Linked DNA regions of Homo sapiens: regions 1, 2, 3 and 5 are each linked to region 4. The links are contacts of gene promoters, found by promoter capture Hi-C in blood cells and fetal thymus (Javierre and others, 2016). All regions are on one chromosome and are shown on one strand. The core of a region is centred on a gene start or on the middle of the fragment in contact, and the rest is flanking DNA. Distances in the headings are between cores, read along the strand shown. Region 1 overlaps PRKCE (protein kinase C epsilon). Region 2 overlaps PRKCE (protein kinase C epsilon). Region 3 overlaps PRKCE (protein kinase C epsilon). Region 4 holds the start of PRKCE-AS1 (PRKCE antisense RNA 1). Region 5 overlaps PRKCE (protein kinase C epsilon).

The links. The method cuts DNA at HindIII sites, captures the fragments that hold promoters and counts their contacts. A CHiCAGO score of 5 or more calls a contact.
Region 1: a contact is called between a fragment that was not itself captured here and the fragment with the promoter of PRKCE-AS1 in region 4, in 1 of 17 cell types (naive B cells). The highest score is 5.3, in naive B cells.
Region 2: a fragment that was not itself captured here is called in contact with the fragment with the promoter of PRKCE-AS1 in region 4 in 2 of 17 cell types (total B cells and naive B cells); the score reaches 7.3 in total B cells.
Region 3: a fragment that was not itself captured here is called in contact with the fragment with the promoter of PRKCE-AS1 in region 4 in 1 of 17 cell types (naive B cells); the score reaches 5.2 in naive B cells.
Region 5: a fragment that was not itself captured here is called in contact with the fragment with the promoter of PRKCE-AS1 in region 4 in 1 of 17 cell types (total B cells); the score reaches 5.8 in total B cells.

The regions. Positions count from the first base shown.
Region 1 is chr2:45,925,172-45,927,871 of GRCh38, forward strand. All of the region lies in intron 2 of PRKCE (protein kinase C epsilon), which reads left to right. Among named protein-coding and RNA genes, the nearest start is that of PRKCE-AS1, 250 kb to the left of the region's middle. The HindIII fragment of the contact is 2,982 bases long and covers 1-2,700 here.
Region 2 is chr2:45,886,282-45,889,043 of GRCh38, forward strand. All of the region lies in intron 2 of PRKCE (protein kinase C epsilon), which reads left to right. Among named protein-coding and RNA genes, the nearest start is that of PRKCE-AS1, 210 kb to the left of the region's middle. The HindIII fragment of the contact is 4,842 bases long and covers 1-2,762 here.
Region 3 is chr2:45,904,259-45,906,958 of GRCh38, forward strand. The region is part of intron 2 of PRKCE (protein kinase C epsilon); the gene reads left to right. Among named protein-coding and RNA genes, the nearest start is that of PRKCE-AS1, 230 kb to the left of the region's middle. RefSeq lists an enhancer at 336-405. The HindIII fragment of the contact is 2,994 bases long and covers 1-2,700 here.
Region 4 is chr2:45,674,176-45,677,040 of GRCh38, forward strand. It overlaps PRKCE-AS1 (PRKCE antisense RNA 1), which reads right to left and starts at 1,345. Exons shown (of 2, transcript XR_940049.3): 1 at 1,135-1,345; 2 at 1-732. The region is part of intron 1 of PRKCE (protein kinase C epsilon); the gene reads left to right. The HindIII fragment of the contact is 8,353 bases long and covers 1-2,865 here.
Region 5 is chr2:45,849,510-45,852,316 of GRCh38, forward strand. All of the region lies in intron 2 of PRKCE (protein kinase C epsilon), which reads left to right. Among named protein-coding and RNA genes, the nearest start is that of PRKCE-AS1, 180 kb to the left of the region's middle. The HindIII fragment of the contact is 1,272 bases long and covers 790-2,061 here.

The sequences.
Region 1 (2,700 bases), core at 191-2,690, 250 kb after region 4:
TTTCTCATTTCCAAGACTCGTACTAAGGGAGAGGGTGTTCCCCTTTCCTTTCCTAAAGGCCCTGTGGACAAGCATATTATCCTGATAACTCATTTCCCCTTTTCTCTCTAAGCATGCTGTATTTTTTATTTATTTATTTATTTTTGAGACAGTTTGCTCTTGTCACCCAGGATGGATTGCGATGGCATGATCTTGGCTCCCTGCAAACTCCACCTCCCAGATTCAAGCGATTCTCCTGCCTCAGCCTCCCGAGTAGCTGGGATTACAGGCACCACCACCACGCCCAGCTAACTTTTGTATCTTTAGTGGAGATGGGGTTTCACCATGTTGGCCAGGGTGGTCTCGAACTCCTGACCTCAGGTGATCCACCCGCCTCGGCCTCCCAAAGTGCTAGGATTACAGGCGTGAACCACCGCGCCCGGCCAAGCATGCTGCATTTTAATCATCAATTAGCATCAGTAAACATTTACTGTGTACCTAGGATACATCCATCCGAGTAGTGAACCCAAGGGAGAATTCTAGAGCATAAGCTCGGGGAGCTCACAAGCTGGCCAAGGATCACCTAGACTGAGCTGACTTCTATTAGGACTCTTCTAAGACCTGTGATGTTGATGACAGAAGGCTGCTTTCAATCATCGTGGGCTGGGCAAACTCTGGCAGGCTTCCAGCAACAGTGGGACTTGAGCTAGGACTCAAAGGTTTTGCATAAGCAGATAAAATATTGGGGTAGTCATTCCTGGCCCAGGCCAGGGATAACCTGAGGGTGCGATTCGGTGGGGGAGGCAAGGCTAACTTCAGTGGGTAGAATCAGGTTGGGAGAATTCAGTGGGGCTGAATATTCGAAGCCTCAGTGCCACCCACTTTGGCTTGGGAATTTCTAGAATATTGTGCCAGTTTTTTTCTACATCCCAGGAAATGGGGGACTTGCATCTCACAGACTTGTGAAGTATAAATAACTCAAATGTTGAGAAATGACAAAGTTGGCAAGCATGAATTTTCGGCCTGCTGCTCAGCGGCTGACTGCTGAGGCCTGCAATGATATGCAAGGGAACTTGGCTGGCTAATTTTGAATTTTCCTTTCTCCAGGGCCATGGCAAGAGGAATATGGGCAGAGGGGGGAATCAGTGCTTTGTTTCAGGGCAACTGCCATACATAACCACTGTCTTCAAATAAAAGCCTTTCACAAGTAGGTTTCCATTACACAGCAAGTCGAGGAGGAGCTGGTGAAATCAGTGAGTTAGGTGAGTCCCCCCCATCCTCAGGATCTTTTGTTATGGTGGTGGTGGTAATGGCGGTGATAGTGGTGATAAAGAGGAGGGGATGTTGCCCTTAACGTAGTACTGGCATATTACATAGCTCTTCCATACAGGTCATCTTATTTGATCCTAAAGCAAAACTGTGAGGTAGGCAGAGTATTCTCTCCAGTTGAAAGTCGGAGGCTGAGAAGGATTTGTAAGCCAGTGCTTTCTTTTTTTGTTTTGGTCATTACTAAATTACTGTGTTTCTTATTAACGAACATTTTGTGACATGGACAGCCGTGGCTAGAAGCATTCAGACAGAGGGGCTCCTGTGGGCCAGAGGCACCAAAAACGATTTCTGGAAATAGAATTTGAGCTTAGAGGTTTGGGCTGAAAAGTAGGACACAGGATAGTAGAAGTATAGAATGTGTGGTGTGTGCATGTGTGAGTGTGCACAAGACACAGGATGGTGAGAAGTATAGAATGTGTATATGAACATGTGTGAGTGTGGATAGGACACAGAATGGTGAGAAGTATAGAACCTGTATATGTGCATGTGTGAGCGTGCATGGGACACAGGATGGTGAGCACTATAGAATGTGTATACATGAACGTGTGAGTGTGCATGGGACACAGGATGGTGAGAATTATAGAATGTGCATATGTGCACATGTGAGCGTGCATGGGACAAGGATGGTGAGAAGTATAGAATGTGTATATGTGCATGCATGAGTGTGCACGGGACACAGGATGGTAAGAAGTATAGAATGTGTATAGTCCATGTGTGAGTGTGCATGGGGGGGGTGTTGTCAGAGAAGAGGGAGGTGAAATTGTAAAGATATAATTTGTGAATTAACAAATGTAGTTGGATTTTTGTGGTATTGGAACCTAGAGAAGGGAAGGAGACGAGTATTCATTGACATGCCTCAATGTGCCAGGCTCTGTGCTAAGCACTTTTATGTATATCATCTAATTTAATCATTGCAATCTTCCTATGAAGCAGGTATTATCTCCATTTTTGCAGCTGATAACTGATGTATAAACAGAAGAGGTACCTCCCTCCAGGTCTCATAGTAAAGCCACAGGCATCCAGGTCTGCCTGAGTCCAAGGGCCATAACTGCCTACCGTGCCCCAGGACCAAACCTCTGGGCCAGTCTGTACTGCTGATCCAGAGATTATGCAGCCTGGCATATTATTTGATTCTGCAGCCCAGGCTAAGGAGCATTAGAGAAAGGGAGGATTTCATCTCCAGAACTGTAAATCAGCAGGAAGTAAAATCTCTCGCATAGAGGCTGATACTCTCTCCTGCAGTGGATTTGAATATTTGTTTTCCCATTAAATAGATAAACACATAATTGCTAGCAGCTGATGTGTGCTGAGAAAAAAAAATACATCTTTATTTTTCCTTAGCTCTAGAAGAACTTTTCCACAGTGATTTCAAATAGTCTTTGAGATACCCAA
Region 2 (2,762 bases), core at 219-2,718, 210 kb after region 4:
CTCCCACTCTGAGCTCCGTAGCCTGTGTCTGGCTGCTGTCTGCTTTCCTGCCTGTTCTGTCTCTTCCTGAGAACCCCTGCCCATGACCGTCTGGCTATCTTAGAGCACACTATGAGATTGTGTGAAGAGGATTTGCTTAGAGGGGACTTGGCATTTTAATGCTAGCAGTAAAACAAACCTGCCATGCTGACTTCTATTGCATTAAAAAGTGAAGCAACAGGCTTGCTTAAACATAAACAGCAACAGTAAAAACCCAGAACTACCTAACTACATGGGCACAGGAAATAGTCCAGCCATCTTGGAGAATAGCACAAAAATACAGCTGACGTGATAACAGTAACCCTGCAATGAGTCTTGACAATGCTGAAGTCAAATGACTTTTTCAAACCTTTCTAATGCTTGGCTATAATCTAAAGGAAGCATTGCACTTCGAGTGCTGATTTTTTATGAAGCTCGTAAACCTTTTTCTTTAAATGCCAATGTGCTGAAAAGTTATGAGTATTAAAGACTTAGAAAGTGCCTTTAAAAGTGTGGGAAAAGGTCCCTCTTTTCTTGATTATGATTCTTGAATGCTAGTAATGATAGTAGTAGTAATAAATGTCATTCTTCACTAGAATAGTTTTTTCCAAAGACCTTTCGGGTCTACTCTCAAGTTCTTTCCTATCTTTGTGTGAGGTGGACGATGTCACTAGCCTCACGTGGCAGAACGGGGTCAGAAGCTCAGAGTTTAAGTAATATGGCCTGGAATTAGAACCCAGGAGTATTGCTCCTTCTTGTAAACTCTGATGCCTGGGTTTTTACATGGTGTCTATCTGTAATGGCTTATAACAGAGTTGCTCCTCCAGAAGTTTTAGCCTCGTTCCTGCTTGATAGGCAGGGCCTCCCATTGGGCCTGACCCAGGATACATGCTTGGTTGCAGAAAGTCAGCTTTGCAGGTTATACTCTCAGCATTTTGGCCACAGTCAACCGTGCAGAAGGCTTCCTACCTAGATGGACAATAGATAGCGATCTGTGTCTGAAATTCCACAGCCATCAAGATGAAACTGAGAAGCTAGATCATCCTTGCTGGAACACAGATTGAGTTAGGGTGTAGGTCGAGGTTCAGTTGTAGAAAGCAGAATATATCACAGCAAACAAGAGGAAGGGATTTATTATAAGGAATTAAATGGCTTATAGAACTATGAAGAGTTCTGAAGACAAAGGTCTCTAGGTGGCGGTTTCAGGAATAAGTACCCCGGAACCACACTACAGAACTAGACCACCAAGAAAGCTGTTGCCACTCCTACAGATGAAGCCACTTCTCCAGAACCACATTGCAACAGCCATGATTGAGAGGGTCCCACAATCAGGAAGCCATGACTTTTATGGTTCTAGAACCATGCCACATCAGCTATGATCAGCATCTGCAAATGATGTCCTGGTCCTGCCTCCTGGAACCCACAAAGTTGGTACCTGGATGCTGCAACATTGGCTAAAACTGTCATAGAAGAACCAGGTGCCTCTTGGACTTTGCTTGCTGAGCAAATGGCAGCTACTGCCAAAATGTGGTCTCTGCCTCACTTTGGCGTTCTAAATTTCACAAAAGCACATCTAACTGGCCCAACTGAAATCATATCTGGAACTGCAGCTGCAGGGACTTTGAGAGTTGGCTTTAGCTTCCCATCCTCTGCCCACATAGGAGAGGTGGGCACACTAGAAGGATAGAATGTATGCTGGAAGCCAATCCACTGTTATCTCCCATGATCTGTGATCATTAGAAATGGACCTAGATTTCCAGAGTCAGCAGATGAAAACAGAACTGAGGTTATAGCCAGAACATGGAATCGTTGTGAATATTTTGGGGAATGTGTGTGTGGATGATCCCAGATATAACAGATGGCAAAGAATTAAAAGTGGCAAAAGGCGCTGGGTTTGTCCTCTAGCTCCTGCTTAGCTCCTTTGAAACTTGTTAAGCTGTAGTTGCAACAGCCCAAGGAGTTCTGGAGAACTCTAGTCTCACTGTGTATTATTTGGGGAAACAATATGTTAAGAAGCTGTCTTAATTGCCAAGCCTTTACTATGCTAATGTTTGTTGTGAATCTCTAGATGTGGATACAGCATACAAGGGTTCCCCAAACATTTGGCCACTGGAAAGCCTCATGCCTCATCTTTAAAAAATGCAGAAGTAGTATTTCCCAACAGTCTTTTTTTTTTTTTTTTTTTTTTTTGAGCTGGAGTTTCATTCTTGTCACCCAGGCTGGACTGCAATGGCGCGATCTCCTGGGTTCAAGCAATTCTCCTGCCTCAGCCTCCCCAGTAGCTGGAATTACAGGTGCCTGCCACCATGCCTAGCTAATTTTTGTAATTTCAGTAGAGATGGGGGTTTCACCATGTTGGCCAGGCTGGTTTCGAACTCCTGGCCTCTGGTGATCCACCCGCTTTGGCCTCCCAAAGTGCTGGGATCATAAGTGTGAGCCATCGCACCTGGCCAGAAATACTCTTCCAAAGAGCAAGCCAGGGAGTACTGTGGAGAAAAGGCTTGTCTGATTTCCAGGGAGTTAACCTTTTCAATAGCCTCCATCAGGAATGTTTACTGTCAAGATGATAAGATTTCCTCAAGTACAGATGGTGCTCTGCCCTTCAAGGAGAATCAAAAGTGGGGAGACCTTGACCAGCAAAACCAGCCCGTGTGGGGTTCTCTCAGGAATTCAGATGGCCTGAGACTTATCCTGAGATACCCCCAAAGAGGTAACCTGTGATCATAATTAGAAATTACAACAAA
Region 3 (2,700 bases), core at 201-2,700, 230 kb after region 4:
AAACAGTTTCTTAGAAAGAAGCCGGTTGCGTGCGAACCGAGAAGTCTTGAAACCAAAAGAACTCCAAGTTCCCTGCCTGTGCTGAACACTATGGGGGTGGCACGTGCCCATCCAGGGCAAATCACAGGGGGAGAAGATGAGGTTTCTTAACAGTACCACCTCTCACTTTTGGTATTTGTAATGGAGAACACAGACTTATATCACATGTGAAAATGAAACAATGGTTTAAAAAGTCATGTCTCTGTGCTGGCTCTGGATGAGATGAGCCTTTTGAGAAGGCAGAGGCGTGCTCGGTGGGTTGGGCTCTGGGCATTTCTTCCCCTGCCAAGAAGCGAAATGTCTTAGCTCCATGTGCGTTGATGATTACTAACTGGCCAGGGCTTACTGTAAGTGGGCTGTGCTCGGGGATCTCACCAGGAAGAAAAAGAATCAAACTAATCCCTTTCTGGAAACCGTCTCCCCCGGTTGCCTGGGCCACCTGTCCCAGATGCGCTCCTCTTTCCCAAGACTCTTGCTGTCTCCCCGCTGCCCCAGAAGCCTGCCTTTTCTCCAGCCCTGCATGGGACATTCTCCTGATGGCAGGGACCCATGAGAGGGGGGCTGGGTGAGCCTATGTGCTGTGAATGTGTTGGTGAGCCCTGGGGGAGGAGTCAGGGGAACCTGGGGAGCTGGGGGTCCACGTGTGAGGTCCCGGGCGTGGACCATGGAGAGCTGGTAGCCTTTGTTGACCATTGTACAGACAGCGACAGGGGCTCCACATCACTTCAGCAGGCACGGTGACACACAGGACTCACTGGATGCTACGGTGTTAATCACACCACTGGTGCTTGCTGTATCCTATGGCAACAGCAGCTCCTTGTTAATTCAGAGTAATGCTGGGGCAGGCCGTAGTCCAGGCCATCTCACACTGGCTAGGGCAAACCCTGGCTCAAGAGCATCCTTGACTTATGGCCAAGCCTCAGGAACCTCTTGGCTGGCTCTCCAACATAGCCCACGCTAACCCAGTTTTGGAATCTGGTAGTGGGAAAACAGGGAAGCTCCAAAAAAAAAGTAACTCAGAGGTCAAGGTGAACCCTGAATGAGTCCATTAGATTCCACAATCAATATCCAGCTTCTAAACATTATACATATTGATGAGCTGATTGCTAGGAGACTAGTGCTGAGAGAGCTGAAATCTATTTTGCTGAGGCCAAATTGGCTGTTGATGGGCCATAGTAGACTATGGCTTTAATAATCAGGTAAAAAACACCCTGCCATCTGGTAAAACACAGCTTAAGCACATTGGAGCCCTGTGAGCTTTCCTAAAAGCTGGGCAAAGCAGGGCTTTCACCGGGCTCTGTGTATCCTGGCCCTGCAAGTCCTTTCTAAGGGGCTGAGGGCTGGCCGGGGCCCTAGCTGGGGAACCTCTGATGCTGGGAGGGTGGATGCCAGGTGGTGGAACACTGCAACTGTGATCTACAAAGATAGGATGTTTACTGAAGGGTAAATGGAGACCGGCCCATGCTCTTTATAGTCCCTGAACACACGTGTTGACCTGAACTGCTTACTCAACTCTGTACTCAGTTACAAATTGGGTGAGATGTGGCTCCCACAGTGGGAATAATTTCCTTGAAGGTCTTTACTCCAAGAGGTTCCCTGGGAGGAAGGATGTGCTTGTGCGGGGTATGGTGTCTGCCCACATGAAGGGCCGGGGTGGGCAGGCTATCTTCAGCGGTGATGCGCTTTCAACCCTCCTCCCCTACCCACATGACCCGGGTATGGAGCGTGGGTTGGTATCATGATAGCATGCTGGAATCTAACATGAATTATCCTAACTTGGTAGACCCAGATGCAGCGGCTTTCCTGCTCCCCGCAACTCTGCCTGACACATTGCTGGAGCTAGGGAGGGAAAGCCGCTAGCTGATTGCTAAGACCTAGGTGAAGAATCTCAACCACCTGGCCTACTGGGCATCTTCTGGTCATTTGGATCACCGCTGGTGTGCTGGTGCTGAGTCCAGGAGGCTGCACTGCTCACAGGGCATAGGCAGCTCTGCTTGGGGCAAGACATTGCCAAGGTGCAGAGAACAGGTTTCTGGAGGCAGGAAGTCAAAGGCAATTGGGTTAATTAAACCCCTGTGGATCTTCAGCTGCAGAATTGCTGTGAGGTACTCTGAAGACTTAAAGTTGTACATTTACTAAAGCAAAAACGGAACACCCACAGTTAAACCAAGACAAGTCCTTTCTACCTGTGGTGCTATGCATGGCTCTAATTCAAGGGCAGGGAAGAGGGGGACGGGTTTCCAGTGTCTCCCCAAACACCTTTCCTCTGGTTTTGAGCATGGGCCTGTCTGATGGGATTCCAGGGCCGTCCTTTGATCTTACCTCTGCTGGGTTAGGTTGGGGGAAGCTATCTCTGCCTTGACAGGGTGATGCTCCCCTCTACTCATGTGCTCTGTGTGGGAGGCAGCAGGAACCAAGGTCTTGATCTGTTGCTGCTGGCCCACCCTCCATCAGGCGGCAGCTCTGGGCATCAATGTGCCGGCAGCTTCTGAGGTGCCTGCTGTATGTGCCTACCCTGCAGAGGCCTGGGGCCAGCACTGATGGGAACTTCTGTTTGATACTCAGAACATCTTCAGAGATGGGTCACACCCTGCGCTTGGCTGGGACAGTGTTTCATGGGCTTCTCCTGCCGCCCTTCTTTAAGGAGCTGCATTGTGAGTG
Region 4 (2,865 bases), core at 95-2,594:
CAGGTTTTGTGCACGCTCCTTCCACTTCTGAGCCCCTCCAAGCCTGGGGCCCAGCCAGGATTCCTCACTTCCTCTTGGCTGAGTATAAACTCATTTACACTGAGGTAGATGGCCGTAATGAGATATATAAGACTGGTGCTTTAGAAGAGTGCTGTGGAGGAGGCCTTCCTTTATCTGGAGGGTGACATGGCAATGTCTGGAATTTTCAGATATCAGTGACAGGAAAAGATGGACTTTTGGGTCAAGAGGACTCTGTCAAACCAGGTACTAACTGGAGACCAGGCTATTTCTGAGATCATACTCTGTGTCAAGGGCTAGGGATCTTTACATGAGCCTTCAATTGTAAGTCAGGGCCCAACTCACTGTGGTCAGTGCATATATTTCTAGATTACCTCACTTTGGAAATGCTTGTCTCCCCACTCTGTGAGGGATTAGTGCTTCTCCACTTTAAAGGAAAAACAGGTCATAAATTACTGAGGAATTTTATGGCACAGCCCAAAGCACAGATTGGAGGCCAAGGAAAAATAAAACTCCAGCTTCTTTATGAAAGTCAAATGGAAAAGAGAAGATGCTTCCTGAAAAGAGGTGGGCACTGCTTGAGGGAGAGGAGGGAAAGGACTCTGAGTGAGTCTACAGGAACTCCTTTTGGTGTCCTTGAGGAGTTTATGAGAATTCTCGGCCTCATCTTGATAAACTTGAAGGCAAAGTGAAGCAGGCAGTTGAACTGTTTGTCTGGGAAATGGATGAGAGACATGATTATTTTTGGTAGCAAGATTTTCTGTGTTTGGATTATGCATGTTATAAATCCAGTATCTTAATTTCCATTTGCCTTGGGTGATCCATATGCCTAATTTTAATTCAATGCTGATTAAATGTCAGAGAAGGAAAGGAAGGGATGAGGTGAGAGTTTCCAAGCCTGGCTGACCAGGAAGACAGCAGGCAGATCTTGGAGACTGGACCTCATCAATTATAAAGAGAAAAATCCCCTGTAAGTTACAAAACAAAATAGCACAAGAAAACACTCTGTAGATGTACATTAAGCCGTCTCCTTTCCAGAAAACGTTTCCCCAGACCAGGAAGACCCAGCGTGCCCCTTAGCACCTTAGCCCAGGCCTTCAGCTCTTCTCAGCTCACCTTTTTCTCCAGTGAATAAACATGATGCTGTTTTTAAGTCTTTGCTTCCTTGTTTCTAGCCCATGTTTTACTCCAGAGCAGTGAGGGCACTTGTGACCAGCTTTGGGGAGATGAATACACTGTCATTTATACATAAATGCACTGTCATTTATCATTTCAGAATTGGAGTGAATTCTAAATGAATCATAACAGTTGCATTTAATGAATTATTCTCCTGGGTATTGGCTAATTTTAAACCGGTCTGACGAGTTTTAAGGTCCATGTGGTTTGAGGAAATTCAGTGGTGCATTTCCCGGTTTGGTCCTCCTCATTTCCCTCCAGCCCTGCTCCTTTTCAACATGCCAGGCTGCTTGGCTGGGTTATCTTTAATCACTGTAGGTGGGAGGAGGGGAGGCGGGGAGGTACTGGGCCCAAGGTCATGCCAGAAGAGTTCAGGCCTCTGCTTGTCATCTGGCACTGCTCAGAATTCCCAGGGGTCTCCGGGGAGCTGGCCCTCAGCTCACAGATGGGCCTGACTTTGGTGAGAGGTGGCCTTCCACCAGGAAGCCTCCAGCTGGCAGGATAGGTGGGTGGGGAGGGGTGAACTTTGGCTGTGGAAGCGTCTCAGCATTTTACTCCCCTTTTTCAATAGTTGCTGCCTCCACTCCACGCTTTTATTCAAGCAGCACCGGTACCTGGCAGTAGCTCCTACAATGTTTTCTACATTGGCTCTAAAATCATGGCCTAGTAGACACCAATGCTTGACTTGTTTTTTTGTTTGTTTGTTTTGAGAAGTTGTTTACCATTGGCGTGACGGGATTTTCTTGGCCTTGTGAAGTACAGGGAGCCTCAGGATAGCTTCACTGGGGGTGTCATTACATGGTCATTATCAGTGGTAAGTTTCCCAGTCTCAAGATGGAACCCTCTGTTGCTTCTCTGCCGCGTGTTTGGCTCTGTTGACCTTCCATTGCTCACCTGTGCTTGTTCCCCCAGCAGCCTGTTTCTTGTAACTATTTGCCTCATAATGCAAGTATTCTAGTGATTGAAGTGTTGCTGTGCAAAAGAGATCTTTTAAACTGAAACCAGTGCAACAAAACAATTTAAAACATTTTAATAATTTCTTAAAGGATACAGAGCCTTTTCCTCTCTTAATACATGCAGGTCAGAATGACGTCAATAAGGATTATATTTTTGCATTAACAGGAAAACTAAGTTTATAAGACTAGAGTATGGATAGAGAGGAAGATGGTTCTATTGGGATATAAACTCTGATCCATACATGGAAGTAGCCCAGTCCGTACAAACACCATTGCCTGTTTCATTCTTGACTGGACATACATATTGCCCCATTGTGATGAAAGGTTGTGATAATGAAGAGAGTAATAGAAGGCTCAGCTCAGGTTCTAAGGAGGGAGCGAGTAAAGGCCATGCAGGCCCATCCTTCTGTGGTCAGTCACTGCTGGTTGGGGAAGGAAGGAGGTATCAAGTGTCTCCATTCTTTCCTCTTTTCTTCATAGTTTCTAGATCATTCATTTAATAAATCATTAGGGAGCCCCTGCCATCAAGCTAGGTCTTGGGATATAACCAGGAACATGCCTAGATAGGTACCCTAATCTCAGAGGGCTCATGCTCCAATTGGGGGACAGATACTCAAACAGGCAATTATGACATAGTTCATAAAGCCCTGTGATGTATGCCACCAGAGTACCCAAAAGGGCCCCAAACTAGACATGGGGAGTTGGGGAAGGCTTT
Region 5 (2,807 bases), core at 176-2,675, 180 kb after region 4:
TAATAAGAAATGTCACTTGAGAGGTTAAGGAGAGCCTCCAGCTTCCCAAACAGGGGACCTCAAAGCCAGACACCAGCTCCAAGGTGCTGATCAGGCTCCCTCACATGTTGTGCCTTACGCAATAAGATCCTGATCCTGTTCACCACACAGACTCCCTAGACATGCATGGACATGTCAAATCCCCTGGCAGTGCACGGAGCCCAGAAAACAACAAAATAACAAAATCCAGATGTTCAACAACATTGATCTTACAATATGCACCCCACGTTACCACACCCCACCCCGGCATAACTTCTTCCTGTGGCTGATTCTCAGACCCAGGGAGCAAGCCTCTGTGTCTTGGGATTTTTGGCTCTATTTTTGGTCCTGATGGAATAAATTCTTGTTCCCAGAAGTGACTATATGCACCAGATGAGACCAAGGGGATCAGCTGGAAAACAGTGAGCACCAAGCCCCCATCAAGGAGTTTATAATGTCACAAAGAGACATCGCTAAGATGCTTGATGAGACATAAGCCAAGAAACCCTCATTTCCTTCCAAATAGCCTCTAGATGCACAGCAGTGCCTCTGAAATGAATCACCCATGGTTAACAACGCCAAATGCCAACCATTAGCAGATGAGAAACAGAACTGAATCTTGAGTGTTTGGAGAGCAGAGCTCTTTTGATCACAACTAGAGCCTCCTTCCCCTCTGCCATTACAGGAGCGTAGATATATATTTCCTTTTGACTGGTGTGCCTGTCTTACCAATAAAATAATTGAAGGAAGAATAGTTACAGTGAAGAAATAAGCTTATTGGAAAGGTGGATTTCTAATAGATCCTTGGTCAAGAAGTGGGTCCCACATGACCTCTAGTTCTATCTCCGTTGTCTTGCTGTGTATCATTTCTGTGTCCTATAAAGAAGATTGTTTCTGGAAATTCCTGTTTGCAGCTGAGATCATACTGGCCCAAAATGGGTTCTAATTTAATCATTTATTGTTGTTGATGTCTTCATGATTTGGCTTAAAAGAAAGGGTATTTCCATTCATTTAACCTAATTTAGAGTTGTCTGTCTTTCAGGACCTATTACTTTATTCTTTTATCCAGTTGAAAATGGCCAGTGCTAACAGTTTTATTGATTTTCCTTATTACCTAGCTTTGTTGAAACATGCATGTTTTCACAAGCAAGTGCATTCACCATTTTTAATCGAGCTGTTGACACTGGGGCTTTTATCTTCCTCCTTTATTTAAACCTTTGGTGTGAGCTCATAGGGGCCAGTGTAGGGGTGTACATGTGCCCAAGTGCACACAGGTGAGAATGAGTGTCTCTGAATCACCTATTCTGTCTCCCCCTCATCCTCCATTTCTTCAGTTGGAAGCATCATTTATTTGCTTATCTAATATATACGAGGCCCTGGGGATGTAGAGCTAATGAACACAGTGCCTGCTGTCAGGAAGCTCATGCTCTGCTAGAAGGAGGCAAGCAATAGACCAGTAAGCATCATCGTGTGCTTTAGCTGTTGGGTAGCTACTGGTAGGGCAGGGTGCTGTGGGACCACCAAGGAGCCTCCCTTCTGTTTGCAGGCTCTGCTGTGAGTAGGCAGTCAGTAAATGACAGCCACAAACACTTCCACGTGATCACTGATCCACATGGCAACCCTGAAATGCAGGTACCAACAGTTATCCTCTTTCCTTGGTTGAGGAAATAGTGCCACGGCCCACTGAAGATTCATTTGAACAGGAGATAAAATAAAGAGGGACTAGTATTTGATTGACCACAATTTGAACTTTTCAGGAAGACATGTGATGTATACATTGACTCATTCAACCTATGGCTGTTAGGCACTTTCTGTATGCTAGTTACTCTTCTCAGAACTGGGGGCACAGAAGTGAATAATAGAAACAGAAATTCCTGCCCTCATGGGGCTTACATTCAAGTGGATATGCTTGTGTGTGTTTGGGAGGGGTATGTGTGTGTGTTTGCAGGTTGTCTATGCAAGGATACACAGCAGATTGAGAACAGTGGCTGTCTCTGGGGAAAGGAAAGGGAAAATTTGGAAAGGATGAGACATTTCTTGTCAAGCTTATTATTTTGTTTTTCTTTCCCATGTATGTGCATGAGCTATTAATTTTTTTATTACTTAGAAATTGTGAAAAAAAATTGAATTATATAGAAATGTGACCATTCCCATTCACAGAGTGACTTGCCCATGGCCAGAGGCTACAAGAGGCTCCAGCAAACCCTGCCAGAGAGGAGTGACTCACTGAATCCACAGACCACGTCTAATGGCAGGGAACTCCACAAAGAATGCTCTCCGTTCATTTATTGCTTGATAGACACCTCTAATGTATAAAGGGCTATGTTGAAATTTAGGATTCCCTCGGGCTATGCCTGTCACCGAGGACTGAGTGCTCCTGCCATGGAGAGGCAGGTGGGCCAGGTGGCCTGGGCTCCCGCAAAATGGGTGAGGCAAGACCCCCTCAGAGCAGTAACTCCAGGAACCACTTGCCTCCACCTGCCAGCCCTGCCTGCACCTCGCTGGACAGACAATCCCACTGTGGCGTTTCTGATGGCAGCATTTTCCGGCATTTAGCCTCCGCTGGTACTTGTCCCAAACTTGGTCATCTCCCCAGACAGAGTGCTTTCATTAGCTCTGCCCTTCTACCCAGCTAAGTAGGGCAAGTCAGCTGCCGATGGTCATACCTACTTTCCAAACATTCAAGTTTGTGTGTTTCCTGATATTGAAAATAGTGGTGATGTTTAGTTCAAAGGGAGAAATGTTCTCTGCAACAAAAACCCGTGACCTCTACTATTAGCCAAGTGTGA